5 separate regions of the Homo sapiens genome follow, and all the other regions are linked to region 5. The links are contacts of gene promoters, found by promoter capture Hi-C in blood cells and fetal thymus (Javierre and others, 2016). All regions are on one chromosome and are shown on one strand. The core of a region is centred on a gene start or on the middle of the fragment in contact, and the rest is flanking DNA. Distances in the headings are between cores, read along the strand shown. Region 1 has its middle 49 kb from the start of USP3. Region 2 overlaps USP3 (ubiquitin specific peptidase 3). Region 3 overlaps USP3 (ubiquitin specific peptidase 3). Region 4 has its middle 33 kb from the start of USP3. Region 5 holds the start of RAB8B (RAB8B, member RAS oncogene family).

What was found. The method cuts DNA at HindIII sites, captures the fragments that hold promoters and counts their contacts. A CHiCAGO score of 5 or more calls a contact.
Region 1: a fragment that was not itself captured here is called in contact with the fragment with the promoter of RAB8B in region 5 in 1 of 17 cell types (M2 macrophages); the score reaches 5.9 in M2 macrophages.
Region 2: a fragment that was not itself captured here is called in contact with the fragment with the promoter of RAB8B in region 5 in 1 of 17 cell types (neutrophils); the score reaches 5.1 in neutrophils.
Region 3: a fragment that was not itself captured here is called in contact with the fragment with the promoter of RAB8B in region 5 in 1 of 17 cell types (monocytes); the score reaches 6.1 in monocytes.
Region 4: a contact is called between a fragment that was not itself captured here and the fragment with the promoter of RAB8B in region 5, in 1 of 17 cell types (naive CD4 T cells). The highest score is 5.4, in naive CD4 T cells.

The regions. Positions count from the first base shown.
Region 1 is chr15:63,453,950-63,456,649 of GRCh38, forward strand. No RefSeq gene overlaps it. Among named protein-coding and RNA genes, the nearest start is that of USP3, 49 kb to the right of the region's middle. The HindIII fragment of the contact is 4,168 bases long and covers 1-2,700 here.
Region 2 is chr15:63,518,886-63,521,585 of GRCh38, forward strand. The region is part of intron 1 of USP3 (ubiquitin specific peptidase 3); the gene reads left to right. Among named protein-coding and RNA genes, the nearest start is that of USP3, 16 kb to the left of the region's middle. The HindIII fragment of the contact is 5,599 bases long and covers 1-2,700 here.
Region 3 is chr15:63,541,649-63,544,348 of GRCh38, forward strand. All of the region lies in intron 3 of USP3 (ubiquitin specific peptidase 3), which reads left to right. Among named protein-coding and RNA genes, the nearest start is that of USP3, 38 kb to the left of the region's middle. The HindIII fragment of the contact is 3,441 bases long and covers 1-2,700 here.
Region 4 is chr15:63,470,181-63,472,880 of GRCh38, forward strand. No RefSeq gene overlaps it. Among named protein-coding and RNA genes, the nearest start is that of USP3, 33 kb to the right of the region's middle. The HindIII fragment of the contact is 8,815 bases long and covers 1-2,700 here.
Region 5 is chr15:63,188,176-63,190,875 of GRCh38, forward strand. RAB8B (RAB8B, member RAS oncogene family) reads left to right here and starts at 1,431. Exons shown (of 8, transcript NM_016530.3): 1 at 1,431-1,573. The coding sequence starts at 1,450. LOC101928972 (a long non-coding RNA gene) reads right to left here and starts at 1,256. Exons shown (of 4, transcript XR_932355.4): 1 at 671-1,256. RefSeq lists an enhancer at 856-1,005 and a silencer at 1,186-1,515. The HindIII fragment of the contact is 3,523 bases long and covers 69-2,700 here.

The DNA.
Region 1 (2,700 bases), core at 35-2,534, 270 kb after region 5:
CCTCAATGTTTGTCATCTACAAAATGGAGATAATCACTCATACTCTGCCTACCTCCCAGACCTGTTCTAAGTGGAATAAAGGAGATTTTAGATGCAAGTTATACTTGGAAAATGTTGACACTTCATACAAGTATACATGTTGCTATTAATTTTTGTGGTTCAAATTAGAATTTCATGTTAACTCTGTACCCTCAGAGAAGGCTGCAGAAATTTCTGTGAATATCTAAAAGGAAATAAATTTTTTTTTTTTTTGAGACAGAGTCTCCCCCTTGTTGCCCAGGCTGGAGTGCAATGGCGCGATCTCAGCTCACTACAACCTCTGCCTCCCAGGTTCAAGCGATTTTCCTGCCTTAGTCTCTGGAGTAGCTGGGATTACAGGCATGCACTATCACACCCGGCTAGTTTTTGTATTTTTAGTAGAGACAGGGTTTCTCCATGTTGGTCAGGCTGGTCTTGAACTCCTGACCTCAGGTGATCCACCTGCTTGGCCTCCCAAAGTGCTGGGATTACAGGCGTGAGCCACTGCGCCCAGCCTCTAAAAGGAATCTTTAAAAAAAATTTTGACACTATTTTGGACTATATTTTTGTGAAGTATTTTAGTTATAAAACCCAGTTAATTTTGCTACTCAAGGAAGGTTCTATAAATCATTCTAGCTTCACATTTCCGGTGACATAGAACCATACTAGTCAGGTGTTTCCAAGGACCAGCAACAACAGCATTGCCCGGGAGATTTTTAGAAATGCAGAATCTCAGACTCCATCCCAGACCTGTGAATCAGATTCTGCATTTTTAACAAGATTCCCAAGTGATTCTGTGCACATTTTTGTTTGAGAAGCCTTGTACTAGTCACTAAACCTACAGAGTTTGAGAAAAGCTAAGGGGAAAGAAAGAACTCCAATGCGTGCTACAGTTTAAGAAGCACTCAGAAAAGTTTCCAGACACTGCTTGAGAGCGAAAGTGCCCCCAACACTGCAGTCTCAGGGTGACTGCTGACACAGTACATGCCATTACCTGTAAGAGAGACTTTATTATCCCATTTAATGGATGAAGAAACTGAGGTTGATGAAGGGTAGGTAACTTGACCAAGGTCATGCAACCAGTTAGTAGAGGAACTGGGATTCTAATTCACATCTGAGTAGCTACTTTATAAGGCAGGACACATTCCACCATTCCACTCCAGTTTTTAGAGTAGAAAACCTACTTATAAATGTTCTTTTTAGGCATTTAGAAGTCTAGCTGAAGTGTATATCTTCACATTGTAACACTTTTCTCATTGTGGATTTCCTCCAATTTCATTTTTCTTGTGTTTTAATCAGAGACCATCTTTTTTAAAATGTAATTTAGATACCATAAAATTTATCCTTGTTTTTTTCTTTTCTTTTTCTTTTTTTTTGAGACAGGGTCTCACTCTTGTGGCCCAGACTGGAGTGCAGTGGCGCCATCTCAGCTCACTGCAACATCTGCCTCCCAGGCTCAAGCAATTCTCCTGCCTCAGCCTCCCAAGTAGGTGGGATTACAGGTGTGTGCCACTACCACCTGGCTAATTTTTGTATTTTTAGTAGAAACGGGGTTTCACCATATTGGCCAGGCTGGTCTTGAATTCCTGACCTCAAATGATCCACCCGCCTTGGCCTCCCAAAATGCTGGGATTACAGGTGTGAACCACCACGCCCGGCCGAAATTCATCCTTTTGAAGTGTTGGTATATATATATATATATATTTTCACAGAGTTATGCAACGATCACCACTATCTAATTTTCATCAGCCAGTAAGGAAACTCCACATCCATTAGCAGTCACTTCCCATTGCCCCACCCCCAGCCCCTAAAAACCCCTAAACCACTAATCTACTTTTTGTCTCTATGGATTTGCCTATTCTGGACATTTTATGGAAATGGAATGATATGATATGTGGTCTTTAGTGACTGCCTTCTTTCGCTTAGCATAATGTTTTCAAGGTTCATCTGTATTGTAGCGTGGATCAGTACTTCGTTCCTTTTTATTGCCACATAATATCTCGTGGTATGGACATAGCACATTTCCTTTATCCATTCATCAGTTGATGGACATTTAGATTGTTTCCACTTCTTGACTATTATGGATAATGCTGCTGAATATATGAGTGCATATTTTGTGTGAACATGTTTTCGGTTCTCTTGGGTATATGCTTAGGAGGAGAATTGCTGGGTCATATGATACCTCTATGTTTAACTTTTTGAGGAAGTGCCAGACTGTTTTCAGAGAATATTTTCACCATGTATTGATACCATATTGGATTTTAAAAGAACAGAAGTTAGTCAAAGAGACCCAGGAAGCCACAAAACTGAACAGACAAGAAATAGACATGATTCAATGAACTTTAACCCAAATCACATCTGACTGTGTAGATGCAGCAGAGTAGGCAAAAAATGAATTTGACCAGAACCCAGGAAAGCCAATTGCCTAACAGCCTGTGACTAGCACAGCACAGAACCCTGGAGAGCTGGGCTCCAGTCTCACTAACTCACTGTGTGACCATGGGCAAGTGCCTTCCTCTTTCTGGGCCTCAGGTCTCTCATCTATAAAACAAGAAGTTGTATCTGGCTGTGATCTTACTGTCTATACTTCTATGGTCACTCCATGGCACTCCCACGTCTTATGCTCATGGTAGTTATGTGCTTTTCTGGTGTAGATATTCAGTCTGAAAATTGCTGGCACAC
Region 2 (2,700 bases), core at 190-2,689, 330 kb after region 5:
CTCCTGAGTAGCTGGGACTACTGGCACTCACCACCACGCCCGGCTAATTTTTTGTATTTTTAGTAGATATGGGGTTTCACCGTGTTAACCAGGATGGTCTGGATCTCTTGACCTCATGATCTGCCCGCCTCAGCATCCCAAAGTGCTGGGATTACAAGCGTGAGCCACCGCGCCTGGCCGGGTCTTTCTTTTCAATCAGCAGAGAATATTGGTCAAATCAGGACAGTTGATACTGATAGAATGCTGTTACCTAATGCACATTCCATGTTCAGATTTCCTCAATTGTCCCAACAATGGCCTTCATAGCTATTACTCCTTTCTGTTTACCTCCCCAGCCACCCTGGATCTAATCCAGGATCATGTGTTATATTTAGTTGTCATAGCTCTTTAGTTTTCTTTCATCTCCAATAGTTCCTCAGCCTTTGTTTTTCATGTCTTGGCTTTTGGCTTTTTTTTTTTCTATTCTAACATCATAATGTCTTGTTATTTTTGAAGAGTTCATTTCAGTTATTTTATAAAATGTTCTTCAGTTTGAGTTTTCAGAGGTTTCTTCATGGTTAGATTCAGGTAATGCATTTTTGGTAGGAATACCACAAAAGTAATGTTGTGTCTTCTCAGGCATCATATCAAGAGTTGGTCTGTCTTGTTTTTGGTGATACTAACTTTGATTACTTTATTAAGGTAATATTTGGTAGGTTAATCAGCTATAAAGTTACTATTTTCTCCTTTGCTATTAAGAAGTAATTTGTGGGAAATGTTTTTAGATTATGTATATACCTCGTTTCTTACCAAAGTTTTACCCAGTAGTTTCACATCCATTGATGATTCTTGCCTGAATCAGTTATTAGTAGGATGATTGCAAGGTGATGATTTTCTGACTCGTAATTCTTTTACATGTTAGTTGGCATTCTGCTATAAGAAAGAACTTTCTCCCCTGCTTACTATTAATTTGCTTACTTATCTTAATAAGCACTCGGTTTTTTTTTATTCTAAGGTACTCATCATTATTTATTTTGAGGCTCAAATTAGCTTATATTTAGCTGGTGGGAGCACCCTTAAGCTGTGATTTGGGCACGCGCCGTCATTCTTTGAGCCCTTTTTACTTTCTCGCACAAGATGTTCCAGGCTCATCTTGTACTTAGCCTGTTGCAGCCTTGGAATTAGCCATTTCTCCAAGTAGCCCTCATTCTTTTTGGCTGGGAATAATGTTTATAAACTAAGATCTCTCAGCACAGTAGAGCTGAGAAATATAAATAAATAAGCATATCTACATCTGTTTATGTCTGTGTGTATTTGTGTGTTTATCACCATGATTTTATACTGATACCTACAATTTCATTCAACACCACAAGCCTAGTCTTGCCCCTTTCCATATTTGTAACACCTTTCTCCAACAGTAAGAACTGGTTCCCATTATCTACAATGAGTGTGTACTCATTTGCACAATTCTATAATCAGAGAAAATAGTTCCAGAATTGCTAACCCATACCATTGTAAAGAAAACCCCTTATAACTCAAGTTCAAATTTGTTTACAGTTCTTTTTGTCTGTATACTGAAAACATAAAAAGTACTATGTTAAAAAGCTATTTGGTTTAGTTTTAGTCTCCCTTTTAATACACTTATTTAACATAAAGTTTGTTCATTTGTTTGTTTGATTTCTGTTTTAGATTTTTTTTTTTTTTTTTTTTTTTTTTTGAGATGGAGTTTTGCTCTTGTCCCCAGGCCGGAGTGCAATGATGCAATCTCGGCTCACTGCAGCCTCCGCCTCCCAGGTTCAATCGATTCTCCTGCCTCAGCCTCCCGAGTGGCTGGGATTACAGGCGTGGGCCACCATGTCCGGCCAATTTTTGTATTTTTAGTAGAGACAGGGTTTCACCATGTTGGCAGGCTGGTCTTGAACTCCTGACCTCAAGTGATCTGCTCACCTTGGCCTCCCAAAGTGCTAGGATTACAGGCATGAGCCACCATGCCTGGCCCCATTTTAAGATTTTTAAAATCTCATCCTTACTGATTTTATTTTGCTTTTTGAGTATATAAAACATTATCATGGTTCCAAAAGTTAAAACTACACAAAAAGCTGTGCTAAGCAATGTCACTACCTAATGCCGGCCGCTCACTCCTACCCACCCCCTGTAGACAACCAATTTCATTAATTTCTGATTGATCTTTCCTGTGTTTCTTTTTGTAAAGAAAAGCAGGTGGGTATTTTCTTTTTTTCCCTCACAAAAGATAGCAAACTAGATACATTCTTTTGGACTTTTTTTTTTTTTCATTTAGCTGTATATCCTGGATGTCACTCCATGTTTGTAGGAATTTTCCTTATTCTCTTTTTTAAAACAGCTTCTAGTACTCCATCTGTGGATGTGCGACAGTGAATTCAACCCATCTCCTATATGTGGGCATTTAGGTTGTTTCCAATATTTGTAGTTACAAATAATGCAGCAGTTAATACCCTTGTACAAAGATATTTTTGTATTATCAGGTATCTTCAGGGAAGAACACACAAAAAAATTAACTTTTTAATTGTGTGAGCAGCAATATGTAAGATAATACTTCAAGCTATTTGTCTGCCTACTCCACACTTCCACTGTGGTCTTAGAAATGTATCCAAGGCTGTTGAAGTGAAATACTTATCTATCGTAATTATTTTTCTGTTGGGAAACCTTGAAATTAGAGAGCTGGAAGTAGCCTTGGGGACA
Region 3 (2,700 bases), core at 139-2,638, 350 kb after region 5:
TCAGAGTTTAGTAAGAGAATTTAAAAATGCTCTTGCTTCCTAAGCAAATTCTTTTAGATTTTAACCTTTCTCAGTTTGAAATAGGTGAAGTCACTAGAATATCAGCTTGCTTTTTCTTTTCAGTATTACTGTCATTTATAATAAAACCAGATGTCAAATTTGCCCGTAAATATCAAAATGTCTTAGAAGTGAATGAAAAGGAGCTGGTGAAACTTAATGAAGGATCTGTCATGTGTCAGGGGTGTTTGTTGCATAAGAGGTTTTATTTATTTATTTATTTTTGGTATTAGTGTTATGCATGGCTTACTGTATAAAGATAGCTTTGTTGCCAGTAAATTAAAGGACTTGTTTCTTTACTGTTGCATAAAAAATGTTTTATTTGTATGATTATTCCTCCTTGTTTCAGATGAGTGAAGAATGGTTTGCTTTGGGAATATTTTCTTAGTTCTTCAAGGACATGATGTGGAAGTCATGACTTGAGTAACTTCAATAGCACTAACAACAGGAATTGAAAAAAACTTAGAATTTTAAAGCTGAGAAAGAGGTAGAGATTTTTCTCTGTCTTGGGTATGACATATATGTTATTCAGTATGGTAGCAATTGAGCAATTGAATGTGGCTAGTGTGAAGAATTAAGTGTTTTTTATTTTAATTAATATTTAAATAGCACCATGTGACTGCTAGCTACTATTGGACAGTGCAGCCTCAAACTATTAAAATTTAACATTAAGTATATTAATGTTATAAACTTTCAAAACCTTAAGATAGAAATCTAACAGAAACTCCAAAAACAAAATAAGCCAATTTTACTAAATAAAATACTGTAGTTGGAAATAACTATAACTTAAAGCAAATCTAACCCAGTAAGCTATCAAAAAGAAAAATTATATAATTACCAAGTAGAGTTAATTTCACCTGAGTTCTATGAACATATTCATTATTAAAGGAAACCTCAAATTATTGTCCCATTGGAAGCAAAATATACATTTATAAATAGCCATTTCTCGTTTTAAAAAACTAATAACATTGAAATAAACAGAAACTTAAGCTCTTCTAGTTTGCCAAAAACCAGAAAGCAAACATCATATACTAAATGATGAAATGCCAAAGCCATTTCCATTATATCAGAAACGAGACTAATACTTCCTGTCATCATTTACATGATTGTCACTATTATTAAGCATTGTTTTGGTAGTTCTAGCCATTGCAGTAAGACAGTAGACAGAAAGTCAAATAATTGGCATAAATATTGGAAACAAAAAATTATTTCTACTTTGAAATGATACAATAGAATAGCTGGAAAGCCCAGGGGGACTCTAGTAGAAAACAGCAATGAGGATTAAATGTAAGACACTTTGGAAAGCTGATGTGTGAGAAATGTACACAAACTAATAGCTTTCTCTTTATTAGTAGTCATCAGTTGAAAATGGAAATGACCAAGCAAAAATATTCAACAGAATGACAAAACTATTGGTTACACCTAGGAATAAATGTGTTAAAGAAAGGTACAGAGTGAAGGTAATGACCCTTATGAAGAAAACTTGATATTATAAAAAGTAGTCCTTTTCTCCCTCAGTTTTTGTCTTCAAAATGTTTACTTGGGACAGATCGTGGTTTACATGATGGTCCTCAAACATATTGTGAACAACATTAAAAAAAAAAGACACATTTTACTCAATAAGTAACATTTTTTGAGAAGCTACTATGTGCTAGGGACCTAGTTTTTAGTGCAGTGGTCTCCAAAATAATGTACTGGCAGTATGGGAAGAGCGTTTAGAACACTGTACCTTTTTATTTGGGAGGAGAAAAGAAACCTTTGTCAAATATTTAACACCTGCTGCCAGAGGTCTGTAGATTTGATGATTGTGTGCCATGAGTTACACACAGACTCCTAAATCAGTTTCACCTGTGGTGTCCTCATTCTGTTTACTTTGAGCATTTTGCATTCTATATCTGCTTAGTTATATGGATTTATTCGTCCCATATAATATGTGTAGCCACATGGACACATGTTCTAAAAGGTTTTAAATTCTGCAAGATAGTGACGATGATGTAAACACAAGAAAAGGGCAAATGGATACATTTTCCTACTCTGTGCTCATCAAACATATTACAGGATAAAATTATTGGCTATCTAATAAAAACACAGACTAATAAGACCTGATAAGTTGGACAAAATGTTTAAAAATTAACATGAAGATGATAGGAAGTATGAATCTATATTCACTGTCATTAATGTCAAACCTTTACCTTATGGTATATTGTACTTTGAGAAATTATGGCCAGGCATGGTGGCTCACACCTATAATCCTAGCACTTTGGGAGGCTGAGACAGGAGGATCTCTTGAGCCCAGGAGTTCGAGACCAGCCTGGGCAACACAGGGAGACACTGTCTTTAAAAAAAAAAAAAAAGGAAATTAGTTTAATAATAGTATGAAGATATTGTGAATAGCAAGACATTTAATATAGTTTATTTCATCTCTAGCTCATTCTTTAAAAATTATTCTTTTTTGTAATATATAATTTAGATTTAATTGTATATATAATTTATTAATACAAATATATACATATATATATAGAATATATATAGAGAGGGTAGTGGATACTCAGTTTTGTGGTTTATTTTTTAACTTGATTAGGAAGCTGATGAAAATAGCTTGAAGGCTTCTTTTGTAACCAAATGCAGGTCTGGATGCTCACT
Region 4 (2,700 bases), core at 89-2,588, 280 kb after region 5:
ACAACAGAGCAAGACCTTGTCTCTGAAAAGAAAAAAAAAAAAACTTTATTGGGAAAAATTTGTGAAATCGGAATAAGATCTGTGGATTAGATAAAATAGTTGGTACCAAAGTTAATTTCCTAATTTTGATGATTATCTATACTTATCTAAGAGAATGTCCTTGGTTTTACAAAGCATATACACCAAAGGAGTAGAGGGGAGTAATGTCTGTAAAGTAACTCACAAACAGTTCAGAAAAAGTAAAATTATGATTCTAGATACAGTACATAGAAAGATAGGTAGGGGCAGCCAGGCGCAGTGGCTCATGCCTGTAATCCCAGCACTTTGGGAGGCCGAGGCGGGTGGATCACAAGGTCAGGAGTTCAAGACCAGCCTGGCCAAGATGGTGAAACCCTGTCGCTACTAAAAATACAAAGAAATTAGCGGGCACCTGTAATTCCAGCCACTCGGGAGGCTGAGGCAGATAACTGCTTGAACCCGGGAGGCGGAGGTTGCAGTGAGCCAAGATCACGCCACTGCACTCCAGCCTGGGTGACAGAGTGAGACTCCATCAAAAAAAAGAAAAAAAGGAAAAAAGAAAGAGAGAAAGAGAGAGAGAAGGAAAGGAAGGAAAGGAAGGAAAGGAAGGAAGGAAGGAAGGAAGGAAGGAAGGAAGGAAGGAAGCAAGCAAGCCAGCCAGCCAGCCAGCCAGGCAGGCAGGCAGGCAGGCAAGCAGCGTAGTGGCTCATGCCTGTAATCCCAGCAATTTGGGAGGCTGAGGTAGGCAGATCACCTGAGGTCAAGAGTTTGAGACCAGCCTGGCCAACATGGCAGAACCCCATCTCTACTAAAAATACAAAAATTAGCCAGGCGTGGTGGCACACGCCTGTAATCCCAGCTACTTGGGAGGCTGAGACAGGAGAATTGCTTGAACCCAGGATGCTGAGGTTGCAGTGAGCTGAGATAGTGCCACTGCACTCCAGCCTAGACAACAGAGTGAGACCCTGTCTCAAAAAAAAGAAAAAAAAAAAGATAGGTAGGTAGTTGGGTGGGTGGAAGGTTAAGGTTAATGTCACAAACAATATTTAGGGTATCGGGCTGAAAGATATACAAGAATTATTTGTACTATTCTTGTAACTTTCTTGCAAGTCTGAAATTGTGTCAAAAATAATTTTTAAACAATTTAAAGGTGACAGTAGATCCAAATGCTGAAGGAGACTGGGAATTTGTGGGTGGGAAAAGGTGGGGAATGGAATTAATTGCAGGCCGAGTAAAGACTTAAGAAAGCATTCAGCTGGCTAGCACCTGAAGATCCAGCTACTCGGGAGGCTGAGGCAGGAGGATTACTTGCAATTAGAAATTCTAGGCTTGCAGTGAGCTATGATCATGCCTGTGAATAGCCACTGTATTCCAGCCTGAGCAACATACCAAGGCCCTGTCTCTAAGCCACCAGGAGATGGTGGCCCATTTCACAGAAAGCTGCATTTGAGCATGTTCTAGAAAGAGGTGCCACAATCCTCCAGGCAGACAATAGGAGGAAGGGCCTTTTAGTCAGTGGCCAGTAGGTATGAGTGAGTAGGGCACTAACAGGCAGGAGGCAGGTGTGGCTGAGGTACTGGATATGGGCACTAAAGATGGATATGTAGGTTGTGGCAAAATTGCAAAGGACCTTGAATGCCCTGCCAAGGCGTTGGGACTTCATCCTGTAAGCAGGGGGTGGGCAGTGACATGATGAGCTAGATGTTGTAGAAAGTGAGGAGGACGAGCCAGGTGTGGTGGCTCACACCTGTAATCCCAGCACTTTGGGAGGCTGAGGCAGGCGGACTACGAGGTCAGGAGATCGAGACCAACCTGGCTAACACAGTGAAGCCCCGTGTCTACTAAAAATACAAAAAATTAGCCGGGCGTGGTGGCGGGCGTCTGTAGTCCCAGCTACTCAGGAGGCTGAGGCAGGAGAATGGTGTGAACCCGGGAGGCGGAGCTTGCAGTGAGCCGAGATCGCGCCACTGCACTCCAGCCTGGGCAACAAAGCAAGACTCCATCTCAAAAAAAAAAAAAAAAAAAGTGAGGAGGATGAGTAGAAATGAGCACGATAGGAGTCGGGGAGACCCAGGAGACTATCGAGGTATCTGGAGGTAAAAGAAGATGCTGAGGGCTTGAATTAATTAAGCCCGTTGGGCCAGAACTGGAAGGGCAATATGTACATTCACACCCCTAGGAGGCAAACTGGCAGGACATTTTTGGTGCTCTCGTTCCAGTTTGCTCTGCATTGCAGAGGCCGTGGGACCAAGTGACTGGTCAGCAAGGGTAAGCCCCTAGTTGGTTTAGAAGGTGGGGAAGTGGGCTGGGCGCAATGGCTCATGCCTGTAATCCTAGCACTTTGGGAGGCCAAGACGGGTGGATCACCTGAGGTCAGGAGTTCAAGACCAGCTGGCCAACATGGCAAAACCCCGTCTCTACTAAAAATACAAAAATTAGCCAGGCGTGGTGGCACACGTCTGTAGTCCCAGCTACTTGGGAGGCTGAGGCAGGAGAATCACTTGAACCCGGGAGGCGGAGGTTGCAGTGAGCCGAGATCACGCCACCGCACTCCAGCCTGGGTGACAGAGCGAGACTCCGTCTCAAAAAAATAATAATAATAATGATAAGAAGAAGGTAGGGTGTGTCCAGTGTCCACTTCTTTTGAACTTTATTGGAGCTAGGGCCTTTATCAGGAACTGA
Region 5 (2,700 bases), core at 181-2,680:
CAGTGGTTCTCAAATACTTTGGTTTCAAGACCCCTTCATCCTCTTAAAACTTATTGAAGACTCCAAGAAGCTTTTTTTCATGTGGGTTTTACCTGTCGGTATTTGACATATTAGAAATTAAAACTTCGAAGGGAGAACAACAGATGAGAGACACAGAGCCCTGGCAGGGTGGACTCCTAGTCCCACACCTTCTTAGCCTTTTGCTTCCACATTACCTGAACCAGTCAACACCCCTTTCACAACAGCTAATCCGGTTGGGTTTCTGCCACTAGCAAATGAAAGGGGACTGAACAATACATCCACAAAACAGAGAATTAGCCTAAGACAATAAATAATAAAGGATTAACTTGAGTATAACAGAATGCTGTTTCCTCCCTATATTCGTCATCAATTAAGTGAGAGCCTACTGAAGAGTAATGAATATTACCATCACTGCTAACAGTGCCTTATGGGTTTCAAAGAACTTTCACATTTAGTATTTAAGTTTCACTGGAACCCTATGAAGTATCTTGTTTCATATCCATTTTACAGATGAGAAAACTGAAATGTCCAGTGCCTGTGTGACTTGTCACAGCGGTTTTGCAGCAGAGCCAAGACTAAATTCAAATCTTACTCTCTAAATTCCCGTGGCCCGCCTCACAGGATGCTTGCAGTTTCATGGGGCACAGACCTGTAGCACAAGACTTCCCAGATTTAAAAATCCATCCTCCTGCGAGGAGAGGGGAGCGATCAGCGTAGCAGATTCTCTAAATACTCATTGTATTTGGCTCTGGTCTGTGTGGCGTGAAGAAGGGGGCACGAGTGAGGTTCGAGTTAGCATGGTAACCATTCTTTCTCAGCTCTGTGACTGAGGGGCTGCGGGAGGGGGTTATAGTGGTGCTGGGCATGGCCTCGGGGAGAAGCTGGATAATGCCCTCTGCAGATAACCCGTAGGCTGCGCCACAGCAGCGCCAAGGAAAGAAAGCATCTCTGCTCCAGGTCTCGGCGGAAGAGATGCGGGAACTACGGGGCTCTGATTCTGAGGTCCTGGATTTGGAAGGCGTCTGCACACAAAGAAATAACAAAGTTAAGTTCCCGCGGCTCGACCAGCAGAGTACGAAACGGGGCCTCCCTTCCCAGCTCGGGTGGAAACGCCTCCACCCTGTCACCCCGCCCATAGCAGGTCTTTTATCCGCTGGAGCCGCCTGGACAGTCCTCGCGGGGCACGCCCGAGGCTCCCCGGAGGAACTACAAGTCCCATGAAGTCCCGGGGCGCGGGCGGTGATGACGAAGCCCTCGCCGATTGGCCGCACGGGGCGGGGCGCGCAGGCCTTCTCCGAGAGGAGGGGCGGGGCGTGGGGCGGGGCGAGCAGCGGCGGATTGGCGGGCACGCCCCCTCGCCCGCGGCCCCCTCCCCGCCTCTCTCCACCGCCTCCTCTGGCTCCCCGGTCAGAGGGCCGGAGCGAGAAGATGGCGAAGACGTACGATTATCTCTTCAAGCTCCTGCTGATCGGCGACTCGGGGGTAGGCAAGACCTGCCTCCTGTTCCGCTTCTCAGAGGACGCCTTCAACACCACCTTCATCTCCACCATCGGTGAGGGAGGGGCCGCGGCCCGGGACCGGGTAGAGAATTGGGGGGCGGGTACTAGGGGACGGGGAAAGGGCGGGGGGCGCTTGGGAGCCCGGGAGAGGAGACCCCGGGGACTGCAAGGTGGCGGGGGCACTGAGAGGGGCGAGGGCGTGAGGGAGAGGGGCGAGGGCGTGAGGGAGAGAGGCGAGCGGGAACGTGAGGCTAAGGGCGAAGGGGGAACTTGGGGGCAAAGGAACGGGAAGGGGAACAGAGGAACAAGGACTAGGGGTATTGGGGGAACGAGAGGGTTCGGAGACTGACAGGGAGGGGTCTTTGAGGGACAAAATGTGTTGGGGGGAAGACTCAGGAAATCTCATGTAGAGAGAAGGGGATAGTGGACGTGCCAATGATTAAAAGACAGGAGAGGAAGGAAATGTGAAGGGGGAAATGAGGGATGGGGGCAATGAGAGGGATGTGAAGTAAAGGGACAGAGGACACAAGGGACAGAGAGGTGAGAACCAGGCAACTGGAAGGGAATTCAGGGGAATGAGCGGTCAGGAGGTGAGGAAGAAGGGGACGGCTGGCCACAGGAGGTCTGGACTGAGATGTCGTAGGAGGGGACAGAAGAAAATTGTAGGTGGAAGAAGAGTTCAAGGGATCAGAGGGCAGAATGAGGATACTTGATGGAGAAAGTAAAGGGATCTGGGTGTGAGACAGAAAGGAAAAGAGGAAGCAACATCATAGTAAAGGGAGGTTGAGCAGAGAAGACAGAGGAGATGGAAAAGAGAGGAAATGGAAAGTAGTGGGGCGCAAGACTTGCTATAGTAACTGATTACCATTTTCTCTTCACTTCCTTTGGATCAAGTGCAGGAGAAAGCAAAATGTGACTAATGATGGAATAATGTCTATAGAGCGTTAATTTGTTCTGTGAGTGTTAATGGATGTTAAGGGAATTGGTGACTTTTGGAAATGATGTGGTCAGGAAAATATGGTTCACCTCTTTACTACCATCTCCTGAGAAGCAAGACTTCTCAGTATTTTAAATCCTTCGGTTTGAATGTTTAACAGCTTCTCAGCCAAGGAAATGAACTTACATTCTACCTGCCTCCCTGTATATTTTGCTTTGGTTCTAATTATTGTTAAGTGAATCA